Linked DNA regions of Homo sapiens: regions 2 and 3 are each linked to region 1. Evidence: promoter capture Hi-C in 16 types of primary human blood cells and fetal thymus (Javierre and others, 2016). All regions are on one chromosome and are shown on one strand. Each heading gives the region's core, a stretch centred on a gene start or on the middle of the fragment in contact. The rest is flanking DNA. Distances are from core to core; before and after follow the strand shown.

Region 1 (4,706 bases), core at 1,400-3,899:
TAAAAATACAAAAATTAGCCAGGTGTAGTGGCATGCATCTGTAATCCTAGCTACTCGGGAGGCTGAGGCAGGCGAATCACTTGAACCTGGGAGGCGGAGGTTGCAGTGAGCCGAGATTGCCACTGCACTCCAACCTGGGCAACAGAGTGATACTTCATAAAAAAAATAAATAAAATAAAGAAAGGACAACTCCAGGCCATTCTCAGTTATGGAGCCAGATGCTGAAGTCCTGAATCGAATCGTGCCACATGGGAATAGAGAGACAGAGGAGAGGGACTGAGGCTGGCAGAAGATGAAAGGATGGGGTGGAGAGGGATAGAGAAGATGGAACACAGTTCAGGCCAGGCACAGTGGCTCACGCCTGTAATCCCTGCCCTTGGGGAGGCCGAGGTGGGCGGATCACCTGAGGTCAGGGGTTCGAGACCAGCCTGGCCAACATGGTGAAACCCCGTCTCTACTGAAAGTACAAAAATTAGCTGGGCATCATGGCAGGTGCCCGGCTAATCCCAGCTACTCGGGAGGCTGAGGCAGAAGAATCACTTGAACCCGGGAGGCGGAGGTTGCAGTGAGCCGAGATCATGCCACTGCATGCCAGCCTGGGGGATAGAGTGAGACTCTCCCTCCAAAAACACAAAAAGAAGATGGAACACAGTTCAAAGTGGGAGAAATCCCACCTCTTGATCTCTGGGTGGGTTAGGATTCTGACACTCATCACCCACTCTTCTCTGCCCAGCCACCTCCTGGTATGGGAAACTCCATCATTTCGGCCCTGGACCAGGGCAGAAAAACCACACCTGAGTTTGCCCAGGAATTTGGCTTTGTCCCTGGAGTGTGAAACCGGGAAACAGATTTGATGAGCTCAAGCTTGGAGAGGTGGCACACTTAGTCACCCTCTATAGGCAGAGCCCAGAGAAGGCAGAAGCTTCTGGATATCTGTCCTGGGATGCCTGTCTTTGGGTGGAGTCAAGTGTCCAGGAGCTGGAGAGGAACCCCGGGTCCTCTGAGGGGAGTGGGCCTTGGCGCCTTTGTTTGAGCAAAGCCTGAAAACACGTGCAGATTCTCGCCACACCTGGGCACCCACACACATAGCTCTGCCACCTCCAGCTGCTCACACCCTGCACATTGTTCCTGCCTGGCCTTCCCACCAGCAATCCCACCTCCACCCCTCTCTCAGTCTCTCCCCTTGGCACCAAAACCCAAATATCTTTCACCCCTGCACCTACTGTACCCACCCACTGGCTCTCGTTCTGGTCTTAGCCTCCCTCCCAACTGGCTTCTAGATGCATCTGCTGCCCCAAGCCTGCCCACCACCACCTGCCCTTCCTTCCGATGCCCTTTTCATGCCTGAGGCCAGACTCTCAGCTGTTTCCCCTCCAACCCGAGCCAATATGTCAACACTTGGGGCTTCAGGTTGGGGCTTAGGAGGCCCCATGTCGGGAGGGCAGGAAGGATGAGGGCCTGGCCCCAGCCCAGGTTCTGGCTCACAGGCTCCTGCTGCCCTGGGTCTTCGGCCCCTCCCCGTGGCTGCCTCAACCGGCTTTTCAGGAGACACTGCGTCCTGTTCCAGCTCGTGGCAATCAGCCCCCTGCCCTTGCCCAAGGGCTGGGAGGCAGGAGGTCTGGGTTCTGCGACAGGAATGGGATCCTGCCTCCAAAATCTGCGGCACTCCACAAGGGACTCTATGCTGCCCTGGCGACCCAGGCGCCCTTCCCTCCAGCACCCTGTGAGACCCAGACTCGGGCTCGGAGTCTCTTTCCTTGGCCTGTTCGAATCCATCCATTTGTCCAGTCAATAAATATTTACTGAACCCCAGGCAGTGTTCAAGAAGCTAGGAATACAGCAGTGATCAACACGACCAATTTACATTGCTAGTAGGTGAGACAGGCAATAAAAAATAAAGGTAATTTCAGATTTTTTTTTTCTGTGAAAACAAAAGGGTGATACTACAGAGTATAATTAATGCCATGTTATGGTCAGGAGAGGTTTTCTTGCGAAGTTGGCATTTAAGTCAAGTACGGATGAGGAGGAGCCAGCCACGTGAAGATCTGGGTTCTGCATTCCAGGCAGAGAGAGGAGCATGTGCAAAGGCCCTGCAGCAGGAATGAGCTTGGTGTGTTTGTGGAACAGGGAGAAGGCCTGTGTGGCTGGAATGGAATGAGTGAGGGCAGGGGCTGGCCCACAAGAACGAGGTCTGATGACTCCTTCATCCCACCTAGTGTTCTCCCCTCTCCAGACGGTGCCTCCCATCATTCTAGCCCCTCACTGCCTGGGGAGCTGGAGGCTTAGATGCCTGAGAGGAGTGAGGTGTTGAAGAATTGCCTGCATCCCAGGGATGGAGCATGGTGGAAGGTGGGTTTGCGAGAGAGGAGGCCTGGACAGTGGGTGAGGAATGAAAGAGGAGGTGGTTGGAAGGGCAGACACCCATCTCTGGGGTGGAGGGCAAGGAGCAAAGATGCCAGAGTTCTTCTCCATCCATGACTCACCCTCTCTTCCTCCTCCTCTCCATTGCTCAACTCCAAATCTCCCTGGGAAACACCTCCTTGACTGAAGACCAACTCAGTGCCTCACAGGGGTAATTGAGTCATGAGGGGTGGAGAAGAGGGCGAGAGGGAGAGAGGATAAATAGCAGCGTGGCTTCCCTGGCTCCTCTCTGCATCCTTCCCGACCTTCCCAGCAATATGCATCTTGCACGTCTGGTCGGCTCCTGCTCCCTCCTTCTGCTACTGGGGGCCCTGTCTGGATGGGCGGCCAGCGATGACCCCATTGAGAAGGTCATTGAAGGGATCAACCGAGGGCTGAGCAATGCAGAGAGAGAGGTGGGCAAGGCCCTGGATGGCATCAACAGTGGAATCACGCATGCCGGAAGGGAAGTGGAGAAGGTTTTCAACGGACTTAGCAACATGGGGAGCCACACCGGCAAGGAGTTGGACAAAGGCGTCCAGGGGCTCAACCACGGCATGGACAAGGTTGCCCATGAGATCAACCATGGTATTGGACAAGCAGGAAAGGAAGCAGAGAAGCTTGGCCATGGGGTCAACAACGCTGCTGGACAGGTTGGGAAGGAGGCAGACAAACTGATCCATCATGGGGTCCATCACGGGGCCAACCAGGCGGGAAGTGAGGCAGGGAAGTTTGGCCAGGGAGTCGACAATGCTGCAGGGCAGGCTGGAAATGAGGCTGGGAGGTTTGGCCAGGGAGTCCACCATGCTGCAGGGCAGGCCGGAAATGAGGCTGGGAGGTTTGGCCAGGGAGTCCACCATGCTGCAGGGCAGGCCGGAAATGAGGCTGGGAGATTTGGCCAGGGGGCCCACCATGGTCTCAGTGAGGGCTGGAAGGAGACAGAGAAGTTTGGCCAGGGGATCCACCATGCTGCCGGTCAGGTTGGGAAGGAGGCAGAGAAGTTTGGCCAGGGGGCCCACCATGCTGCGGGGCAGGCCGGAAATGAGGCAGGGAGATTTGGCCAGGGGGTCCACCATGGTCTCAGTGAGGGCTGGAAGGAGACAGAGAAGTTTGGCCAGGGGGTCCACCATACTGCTGGTCAGGTTGGGAAGGAGGCAGAGAAGTTTGGCCAGGGGGCCCACCATGCTGCGGGGCAGGCCGGAAATGAGGCAGGGAGATTTGGCCAGGGGGCCCACCATGCTGCGGGGCAGGCCGGAAATGAGGCTGGGAGGTTTGGCCAGGGGGTCCACCATGGTCTCAGTGAGGGCTGGAAGGAGACAGAGAAGTTTGGCCAGGGGGTCCACCATGCTGCCAGTCAGTTTGGGAAGGAAACAGAGAAGCTCGGCCATGGGGTCCACCATGGGGTTAATGAGGCCTGGAAGGAAGCAGAGAAGTTTGGCCAGGGTGTCCACCATGCTGCCTCGCAGGTGGGGAAGGAGGAAGACAGAGTGGTCCAAGGCCTCCATCATGGCGTTAGTCAGGCTGGAAGGGAGGCGGGGCAGTTTGGCCACGACATTCACCACACAGCAGGGCAGGCTGGGAAAGAGGGAGACATAGCAGTTCATGGTGTCCAACCTGGGGTCCACGAGGCCGGGAAGGAGGCAGGGCAGTTTGGCCAGGGAGTTCACCATACCCTTGAACAGGCCGGGAAGGAAGCAGACAAAGCGGTCCAAGGGTTCCACACTGGGGTCCACCAGGCTGGGAAGGAAGCAGAGAAACTTGGCCAAGGGGTCAACCATGCTGCTGACCAGGCTGGAAAGGAAGTGGAGAAGCTTGGCCAAGGTGCCCACCATGCTGCTGGCCAGGCCGGGAAGGAGCTGCAGAATGCTCATAATGGGGTCAACCAAGCCAGCAAGGAGGCCAACCAGCTGCTGAATGTAGGTGAACAGGGATGGGGAGATGGGGGACAGGGGGGTTGGGGGAGGGAAAGGTTAAACCCCTGGGACATTTGGCGGGGCGGGGGGGTCCGCGTAGCCTTTGTTTGGTGAAAGAAGCTTGGGCAGCTATATCACTGGGTTCCTCCCCCTTCCCCATCTCCCTTACAAAGGAGCTGGTGGCAGCTGGTCAGATGGGGTGAGCCACCTTATCTGCAAAGCACGTATCAGACAGGGTGGCGGGCACCCTGTCCCACCTTCAGGGAGCTGCCCTCCTGGTTAAGGGGGCCTCAAGTGGGGCCCATGAAGCCCTTCCTGGGGAATGGGAAACAGTTCCTGAGATCAAGATCTAGTATAGTGCAAAGGGACTGAGTGTTGACAAAACCTGGTTAG
Region 2 (4,706 bases), core at 720-3,219, 280 kb before region 1:
TGGTGAAACCGTGACTCTACTAAAAACACAAAAGTTAGCCAGGCGCGGTGGCAGACGCCTGTAATCCTAGCTACTCGGGAGGCTGAGGCAGGATAATTGCTTGAACCCGGGGGCAGAGGCTGTAGTGAGCCGAGATCGTGCCACTGCACTCCAGCCTGGGCAACAGAGTAAGACTCTGTCTCAAAAAAAAAAAAAAAAAAAAAAAAAGACCTAGGACTTCACGCCTGTAATCCCAGCATGTTGGGAGGACAAGTAGGGTGGATCACTTGAGGTCAGGAGCTCAAGACCAGCCTGGCCAACATGGTGAAACCCCATATCTACAAAAATACAAAAATTAGCCAGGTGTGGTGGTGGGTGCCTGTAGTCCCAGCTACTCAGGGGGCTAAAGCAGAAGAATCACTTGAACCCGGGAGATGGGGGTTGCAGTGAGCCGAGATCGCACCACTGCACTCCAGCCTGGGTGACAGAGCAAGGATACGTCTAACAAAACAAAACAAAAAAATTAAGACATATGGTTTCCATTTTAAAAAAAGAAAATAGGATATAGAAGTCCCCATATCCCTCTACCCCATTACAATTCCTCCCATCCCCCACAATCAACCACCTCTCTGACTTCTGTGATAATCATGTCCTTACTTTTCTTGTCCTCATAGTTTGACCACCCACGCATGTATTCCCAACATTTTACTGCAGTTTCACTTTCCTTGCTTTTATATTTATTGAAAAGTATAGACCAGCCACAGTGGCTCATGCCTGTAATCCCAGCACTTTGGAAGGCTGAGGCGGGCAGATCACCTGAGGTCGGGAGTTCAAGACCAGTCTGACCAACATGGAGAAACCCTGTCTCTACTAAAAATACAAAATTAGTGGGGCGTGGTGGCACATGCCTGTAATCCCAGCTACTCTGGAAGCTGAGGCAAGAGAATCGCTTGAACCCGGGGGGTGAAGGTTGCAGTGAGCTGAGATTGTGCCATTGCACTCTAGCCTGGGCAACAAGAGTGAAACTGTGTCTCAAAAAAAAAAAAAAAAAAAAAAAAAAAAGAATAATACAGCTTGCCCTGTTTGGTGTCTGGCTTCTTTCACTTGACATTGTGAGATTCAGCCACACAGTTGTGTGTATCAGTATCCATTCTTTTTCATTACTGTATAGTATTCCATTGCATAACTACACCACCATATATGTATCCATTCTCCTTTTGATGGACATTTGGGTAGTTCAGACACTGCTCCTCTGAACATTCTTTCCTGTACATGTTTCCTGCTGTCCATGTTTAAGGTCTCTAGGATATGTACTTAGCATGGAACAGCTGGGTTATATAGGTTATTTGTCTTTTCTTTTTTCTTTTTTTGGCGACAGAGTCTCACTTTGTCACCCAGGGTGGAGTGCAGTGGCACAATCACAGCTCACTGCACCCTTGACCTCCCAGGCTCAAGAGATCCACCTTCCTCGGCCTCCTGAGTAGCTAGGACCACAGGTGTGTGCCACCACACACAGTTAATTTTTGTATTTTTTGTAGAGATGGGGTCTCACTATGTCGCCCAGGGTAGTCTCAAACTCCTCGGTCTTGGCCTCCCAAAGTGTTGGGATTACAAACGTGAGAACCGTATTTTCAAATGTATTCAATAACACTACAGCGTTTCCAATTTTAAGAGGAAGCAATTGCCACAAAAGTGATTAAGTAGCCTGTCCTGGATCACAAAGCCCGGTGTCCTGAGCCCAGGGATCCTTGCTCCGGAGCCCCTGCTTTCCCCAGCACATGGTGGTTACCTAATAAGTGCAGGCTGTTGTGCTGAGCATTCTTGGGGGCTGTTACTGGGGTTCACCTCCCGTTTCCGTTACTCTGAACTCTGTCCCCATTTGTTAATAATTAATTGCCCCCAAGGAGCCTGTGATCCTGAGGCTTTGCCCAGTTAATCAGTCACTGCCCCTGGTCTGGGCAAGGGGCAGTTGGTGAACTTGCTGCCTCCAGAGAACCTTCCCTGGTGTGGAGGCAGCCAGGGACCCAGGATGCTCCGGACCTGTTACGTGCTCTGTTCCCAAGCTGGTCCCCCCTCCAGGGGCTGGCAGTCCCTGAGCTTTGATGGCGGGGCCTTCCACCTTAAGGGCACAGGAGAGCTGACACGGGCCTTGCTGGTTCTCCGGCTGTGTGCCTGGCCCCCACTCGTCACTCACGGGCTGTTGGTGAGCAGTGATCCTGAGGACCAGCCTGGAGGCTCCTCATAGCCTGGCGCTGAGCCCTCGCTCCCTGTCACCCAGCTCCAGGCCTGGTCTCGGCGACTCCTGGGCTCCCGGCTCTCAGGCGCATTTCTCCGAGCATCCGTCTATGGGCAGTTTGTGGCTGGTGAGACAGCAGAGGAGGTGAAGGGCTGCGTGCAGCAGCTGCGGACCCTCAGCCTCCGACCACTGCTGGCAGTGCCCACTGAGGAGGAGCCGGACTCTGCTGCCAAGAGTGGGTGAGTAGGGAGCCAGGGCCCAGGGAGGCTGGGAGGACGCAGGAAGGGGCTTTGCTGTTCGGGCCCTGACACCTGCTGGCTGGGCAGTGAGGCGTGGTATGAGGGGAACCTCGGTGCTATGCTGCGGTGTGTGGACCTGTCACGGGGCCTCCTGGAGCCCCCCAGCCTGGCTGAGGCCAGCCTCATGCAGCTGAAGGTGACGGCGCTGACCAGTACTCGGCTCTGTGTAAGGAGTGCAAAGACGGGGGTGCGGGGAGGGCGCGGCTGCCCATCGGGCTCCCCTCACCACCCCGCCTACCACCCCATTTCAGAAGGAGCTAGCCTCGTGGGTCAGAAGGCCAGGAGCCTCCTTGGAGCTGAGCCCCGAGAGGCTGGCTGAAGCTATGGACTCTGGGCAGGTAAGGATCTCAAGCGGGACTGTCGGGGACAGAGTGCCTTGGACTTAGATGCGGCCACACCGCACGCCAGATGTTCAAAATGCTACGGCCACCTCCAGGCTTGGAACAGCCAGCAGAAGTGCAGCTGTAGCTCCCAGGCATGGTTGAAATGGATGGAATCAGGGTCATCTGGGTTCTCAGGGAGGAGCCTGGAGGCTGGAGGCTCTCAGAGGAGGGATTGGGATAGAAGCTGTTTATCAATTAGAAGGAGGTACATCAGTGTGTTCTCAGTCAACACAGCTGCATGGGTGTGAGCTGGCTGGGTGTAAGTTCTGATTAGGCCAATGGGGTCTTAGTTTGTTCATTCAATCATTAATTCCTTTTTATCTCCACATTCTCTTTCAACCCTACTCCATCTTTTTTTCTTTCTTTCTCTCTCTCTCCTTCCTTCCTCTTCCTCTTTTGCTCTCTCTCCTTCCTTCCTTCTTTTCTTTTTCCTTCTCTCCCCTCCCTCCCTCCCTCCCTTCCTTCCTTCCTTCCTTTATTCCTTCCTTCCTTCCTTCTCTCTCCTCCCTCCTCTCTCTCTCTCTCTCTCTTTCTCTTTGTCTTACTGTATTGCACAGGGTGGTCTCTAACTCATGGCCTCAAGCAATCCCCCAGCCTCAGCCCCCCAAAGTTCTGGGATTATAGGTGTGAGCCACCACACCCAGCCTGCCGTCTTGTATAATGCATATCTTTTTGTTTCTATGATTTTGTTTTGCCAGGTGTATACCATTCGTGGGGGGCATATTTTCCCCAATATTCTATTATAAAAATTTTCAAATATACAGAAAAGTAAAAAGAATTGTACATGAACATCCATGCCCCCGCCACCTTTAACTATACTCACTTTAAATCATATCTATCCCTCTATTCCTCTATCCATCCATCAATCCATCTTATTTTTTGGTGCATTTCAAAGTAAATTGCAGACATGTTTTCCCCCTAAATGCTTCAGGATATGAATAATGGGCTCATTAATTAGAGCCCAATAATTATTCGCAGTACTTTTTTTCTTTCAAGGTAAAACAATGAACTACACACATTGTAAATGTGCCCTTTGATGAACCTTAACCAATACACACACTTGAGCAATCCAAATCCCTATCAAGATTTAGAACATGGCCGGGGGCAGTGGCTCACGCCTGTAATCCCAGCACTTTGGGAGGCTGAGGCGGATGGATTACTGGAGGTCAGGAGTTCAAGACCAGCCTGGCCAACATGGTAAAACTCCGTCTCTACTAGAAATACAAAAATTATCTGGACGTGGTGGCACACACCTGTAGTCCCAGTTACTTGGGAGGCTGAGGCAGGAGAATCGCTTGAACCGGGAGGCGGAGGTTGCAGTAAACCGAGATCGTGCCACTGCACTCCAGCCTGGTGACAGAGTAAGACTCCGTCTCAAAAAAAAAAAAAAAAATTCTTCTTGCCTCACCCTCCCAAATTGTTGGGATTATGGGCTGAGCCACCATGCCCGGCCCCCACTGTTTCCAATAGTTGATTCTAGCTGCTGCATGGTTTACCTCTCCTGGGGTGAACCCCTGGGTGGCCTCTGTGTCTCCACCCTCCCAAACAATGCTATAGTGGACATGCTGATGTTTCTTTTTCTAACCTTTTTTTATTTGTAATTTTTATTTGTTTATCTATTTATTTATTATTATTATTATTATTATTATTATTATTTTAAGACAGAGTCTTGCTCTGTTGCCCAGGCTGGAGTGCAGTGGCGCAATCTCTGCTCACTGCGACCTCCGCCTCCCGGGTTCTCCTGCTTCAGCCTCCCGAGTAGCTGGGATTACAAGCGCCTGCCATTACACCTGGCTAATTTTTGTATTT
Region 3 (4,706 bases), core at 579-3,078, 260 kb after region 1:
TCCGGGGGGCGATCGTCCTCTGTGTTCCTGTCTGAAGCACATCCTGGGGCGTCATCATGACGTAGAACTGGCCTGCAGGGAGAGTGGGGGGTTAGTGGCAAGGCAGGGTGAAGTCAGAACTGGCTGGGGGGGCTTCCCTCCCTGCTGGGCCCGTTGCCTCCCCCACCTGCCAATCTGACTTCTACTCCTCACCTCCAGCCTGCAAGCTCTGGTCTGTGGTCTGTACGGACACAGCCGTAGTATCTCCCACACTGGACGCTGGGAAATAGGCAAATCGTGCCTCCCCGCTGACAGCCTCGGCCGCCGGACTGCCACCATTGCTGAAGGGATTTTGGATCACAGCCTGGGGAGTAGGAGGGCAGAGGCTACCCTTAGCTTTCTCTGTTCCTCCATCCCGTCCCCTCATTGCTGTGCTTGGGGTTTACTGCATTCTCTGCAATTAACAGGAGTGGGGACTCCTTCTGCGTGTAGCATTCTGTCCTGTGTTTCAAACAGCCCTGGAACATGGCGGGAGGTCAGCGATCACTTGCTGAGCAAATCCGTTTCGCACTCTAAGAAACTTTCCTCTTAAGACACATCATTCCCATTTTGCGGGAAAAAAAAATTCCAAGAGCACTGTCCCCAGGTTTCACGGTGCACAACAGGGATCTGGCCCCATGCAGCCTGAGGCCTGAAGGCAGCATCCGCTGGGCGACACCTGCCCCACCCCCGGGGCTCCCCAAGAGCAGAGCCAGTGTCCCCTCTCCACTCCCTCCCCCCCCCACCCAGGGGTGGCAGGGCACCTACCAGCGGGAAGGGCGCTGCAGGACCTGGGGGCACAGAGGCAGCGGCGGGGCCCGGGCGCTGGGCTGCCCCGTCCACACCCACCTGGGTCACAGCCTGCTGCCCCCCCGCGAAGGCAGCGGTGGACACGACGCTGACGGCGCCAGCTGTGTCGCCCTGGCCGTCCAGCTGACCATCAGTCACCTGGACTACGCGGTATGTCACCTGCAGGGGGCGGCAGAGCGGCGAGGCCGGCGCTGGGGCCAGGTCCGAGCCTTCCCGGCGCGCCCGCCCGCCCGCCCGTTCGCCCTCGCGGCCCGCCGCTCACCTGTCCTCCATTTGTCTCTGTGCGGAACTGGTACTGGATGTTGTGGTCGCCGAACGCCGCCTGCTGGACGCTGGTGATGGCCACCGCTGTCTGCTCCTCCGCTCCTGGGCCGTCCCCGCCTGGGGCCGAGGAGGGTCGGGGCACGGTCAGGGCCGCGCCGAGCGCCCCCAGCCCTCCCCGGGCGCGGCCGGCCCGGCAAGCACTCACCTTCCTGCAGCTCGACGCCCTCCTCCGCCTCGGGTCCCTTGTCGTGGCTGCCAGGGGCACAGGAGGGAGCAGGGTCAGCGCGGCCCGCGCCCGCGCCCCCGCCCCCGCGCCCAGCTGCAGGGCCCCAGTCCCACCCGGCCGCGCCTGAGGCCGGGGGCGCCGCCGAGGCCGGGGGCCGGGGGCGGGAGGCGCCAGGTCCCCCCCGCGCCGGCGGCCTCCATTTTGAGCCGGGCCCGCGGCCGCTCGGGATCATGGCGGCCCCGGCCTGCAGGCCGCGGGGCCGGGGCCGGGGCCGGGGCGCGGGGGCACGGCCGGGCCGGGGATCTTACCTGGCGGCGGCAGCAGCGGTGGCCGAGGCAGCGGGATCCAGACCCGGGTCCAGCATGTCCATGGGGGGGGCGGGGGCGGGGGGGGCGCGGGGCCCGGGGGGGAGGGGAGGGGAGGGGAGGGAGGGAGGGGAGGGGGCGGGCGGCCGGGGGGGCCCCGAGCCCGGCGCTCACGCCGCGCGGCAGGAGGGGACGGAGGAGATACGGGAGCCGCTCGCGCTGATCACGGGGACAAACAGTGGGGTCATGTGAGGAGGAGATGCCGCCGCCGCCGCCGCAGCCGCCGCCGCTCCTGCAGCCGCTGCAGCCGCCGCCGCCTCCGCCTCCGCCCGCCCGCCGGCTCCGGGCGGCCCGAGGCTCCGGGACGCCGCGCGGCCGCCCCCAGCCCACCCAGCTGCCCGCCCGCTGCACGCGGCCCTCAGGCCTCCTTCCCTGAGCAGCCGCCGCCGCCGCGACTTTTTTTTTTGAACACGGCCCGCCCTGGCTGGCCGCCGCCAGTGCCCTGGATCGCCGGCTCGCGCGGCCGCCGCCCGGCTTGGCCCAGTCCGGCGGCGGATCGCTGCTGCAGCCGCCGCCGCTTTCTATTTTTCCCCCTTTTTTTTTTCCTCCTTTACTTGAGCTGCGCGCGCGCGGCGGCGGCGGCGGCGGCGGCGCGAGCCCCGGGGCGGACGCGCGCTGGGGGGAGGCGGCCCGGGGCGCGCGCGCTGGTCTGTCTCCGGGGGCGGGCGGGCGCGCGCGAGCCCGGGGCTCCGCGGGGCGCGAGGTCGCCGCGCGCCGCCCTGGTGAAACGCGGGTCTGGATGGAACGTCGGGGTACCCGGTGCAGGGGCTGGGGTCGTCGGGGGCCAGGTGGGCTGCCCGAGTTTGGAGACAGTAAAGTAGGTCGGTGGGGGGCTGGGGGGGATGGGCTGGAAGGGGAGAGGAGCGCGCGCGCGTCCCGGACGGCCAGCCTGCGGTGCGCGAAGGCGGAGGGCCGGGGCGCATGCGCACGCCTGGGCGGGGCCGGGGCGCGCACGCAGGCGGGCGGCGGCTGCGCGGGGCACGTTCTCCGGCCGGCGGCGCGGGCGCGGGCCGGGCCAGGCTGGGTCTCTTCCTCCCGGCCCCGGACTCCGGTGCCCCCGGGACGCGGCGCTTTACAGACGCATACGGGAGCAGCCCCGGTCCCCCGCCCCGCGCGGCCGAACAAATGGTTCTCTCCAGAGCTTGTGATTATACGTTTTATTAGACTCGGGAGGGGTATGGCAGGGCTTCATCAGTGTTCCTTCAAATTAAAAAAAAAAATACAAAAGCTACGTAGAAAACGTCAGATCAGACGACTAAACTTTCCCGACTCAGGGCCAAGTTCTGCAAGGGAGAAAGAAAGAAGGGTATGAGCCGCGGGGACCGGCTGGGGGCCCAGGGACGGTCTGGACGCCAGGGAGGGCGGCCCTCACCTTCTTGAGCCTGCGCTCTCGGGACGCCTGCGAGTCGGTCTCCGAGTACGGGGGCGGCGCGGGCGGGTAGTAGGCCTCTTCCTCCTCCTCCTTGTGGGGTCTCCTCCTCTCCTCCGACCCCTTCTTCCTCACAGCCTCCTCCAGTAGCCGCCCATCATAGGGGAGGTCCCCGGACCTGGAGCCGTTGTCCCGAGGGTCCCGGGTACGGTGGTGGTGGGACCTGGGGTCGGCAGGAGGGCGCTCCCGAGACCTGAAGTCGTCGTAGTGGGGGTCCCGGGAGCGTGGGAAGTCCCTCGAGTCGTCTTGGTCATAGAGGTCGTCCCGGCTGCGGCTCCGCGGGGGCATGTAGGCCCGGCTTCTCCCACCATTACTCGTGGGAGACCTGCTCCCTGACTCGGCGGTGCTCGGCGGGGTGAGGTCGTCCAGGGCGTCCACGGAGCGGGCCCGGGGCCGCCTGGCCCGCCAGCCCCCGCCTGCCTGCTCCCTGGCGGGCTCCTGGTCCCATCCCCTGGGACTCCGGGGGGAGTGGCCACCCCACTCCTCATCCCGGATCGGGGTGAGGGCAGGGCCCCGGGAAGGCCGAGATCGCCAGTCGTCCTCGTGGAGGGAGGTGACTTCACTCATGGCTGCAGGGAAGGGGGGTGTCACTGACTGCTGGAGGAGCCCGGGGTCCAGGGTTTGCACCAAGAGTCCCTGCGGCAGGTATCAGGGAGACATGTTTCACCCCCCCACCTTAAAAGCCCTCAGACCCCAAGGCTCCTGCTTACCCCGCTCCACACGGCCACTGGGGGGGCCAGGTCGAGAAGGGTCGAAGTTGGCCAGCTCCTTCTCCATGTAGTACAGGACCCGCATGGAGTCGTCCTGCTGGCTGGCCTGAATCCTGTAGCCACTGCGGACTTCTAGGGACAGGGGGGTGGTGGTCGGTTTGGGAGGATGGATCCTGGCCCACCCCTCTCCCTTACAGGCACATCCAACTTCGGGACGATGGATTCTCACCAGAGGCCACACTGCTGTCCGTGTCCCGAAGCAGGGGTACATAGGAGCCTTGGCCACCAGCTGGGGGAGAGTGGCTGTCAGTGGCCGCGCACCAGGAGCAGAGCCCCTCCTCGGCTCCCAAGACACTCTTCCTTCCAGCCCCTGCCCCTCAGTGTCCAGATGCCCAGCACACTCCCACCAGCTGTTCCTGCTTCCCCCGGCCTCACCTGAGCTACTCCTGTCAACGTCTCCAGGGTATCCTCCAGGGTACCCGTTGTAGGCAGGGCCCATGGGAATCATAGCTGGTGGGGGTGGGGTCTTGGCGGGAGACAGGTGGGCATAGGTGCTGGGGGCATAAATGCTGGGAACACCTGAGGTGGCTGCTTTGCCGGCGGCATACACTGTGAGGACACAATCAACAGGAGAAGGGGGATGAGGCAGGAGCCAGGCTGCCCCATACCCATTGGGTTCCGGAGGGACCTGGGCCTGGACCTCCTTCCCAAGCCGTCCTCTCCGCTGTAGAGCTTCCTTGGACATCTGAGTCCCTGTTGGTCCTCATTCCATTTCTGCAGCATCCCTGAGGCTGGGGGACACCAGCTTCACAGAGACCCCACCCCACTTCCTGTGTGATTTTTCAGAGGGTGCACGCAGGCACCCACAGCCCCAGGGTGGCAGA

Evidence for each region. Contacts are between HindIII fragments. The CHiCAGO score rates a contact against its expected background, and 5 or more counts as called.
Region 2: a contact is called between the fragment with the promoter of PRODH2 here and the fragment with the promoter of SBSN in region 1, in 6 of 17 cell types (M1 macrophages, M2 macrophages, erythroblasts and 3 more). The highest score is 9.3, in M1 macrophages.
Region 3: the fragment with the promoter of USF2 here is called in contact with the fragment with the promoter of SBSN in region 1 in 1 of 17 cell types (M1 macrophages); the score reaches 5.2 in M1 macrophages.

Annotation. Positions count from the first base shown.
Region 1 is chr19:35,526,254-35,530,959 of GRCh38, reverse strand. It overlaps SBSN (suprabasin), which reads left to right and starts at 2,649. Exons shown (of 4, transcript NM_001166034.2): 1 at 2,649-4,316. The coding sequence starts at 2,679. RefSeq lists enhancers at 1,498-1,998, 3,444-3,945. The HindIII fragment of the contact is 2,098 bases long and covers 925-3,022 here.
Region 2 is chr19:35,810,108-35,814,813 of GRCh38, reverse strand. It overlaps PRODH2 (proline dehydrogenase 2), which reads left to right and starts at 1,969. Exons shown (of 10, transcript NM_021232.2): 1 at 1,969-2,182; 2 at 2,258-2,454; 3 at 2,542-2,680; 4 at 2,766-2,852. The coding sequence starts at 2,009. The HindIII fragment of the contact is 7,636 bases long and covers 1-4,706 here.
Region 3 is chr19:35,266,084-35,270,789 of GRCh38, reverse strand. USF2 (upstream transcription factor 2, c-fos interacting) reads right to left here and starts at 1,828. Exons shown (of 10, transcript NM_003367.4): 1 at 1,627-1,828; 2 at 1,298-1,344; 3 at 1,091-1,209; 4 at 787-987; 5 at 193-343; 6 at 1-72. The coding sequence starts at 1,688. LSR (lipolysis stimulated lipoprotein receptor) reads right to left here. Exons shown (of 10, transcript NM_205834.4): 6 at 4,258-4,431; 7 at 4,052-4,111; 8 at 3,823-3,954; 9 at 3,056-3,681; 10 at 2,826-2,966. The coding sequence ends at 2,931. RefSeq lists an enhancer at 1-472 and silencers at 760-1,079, 1,220-1,409, 2,568-2,717, 2,818-2,887, 2,968-3,047. The HindIII fragment of the contact is 13,161 bases long and covers 1-4,706 here.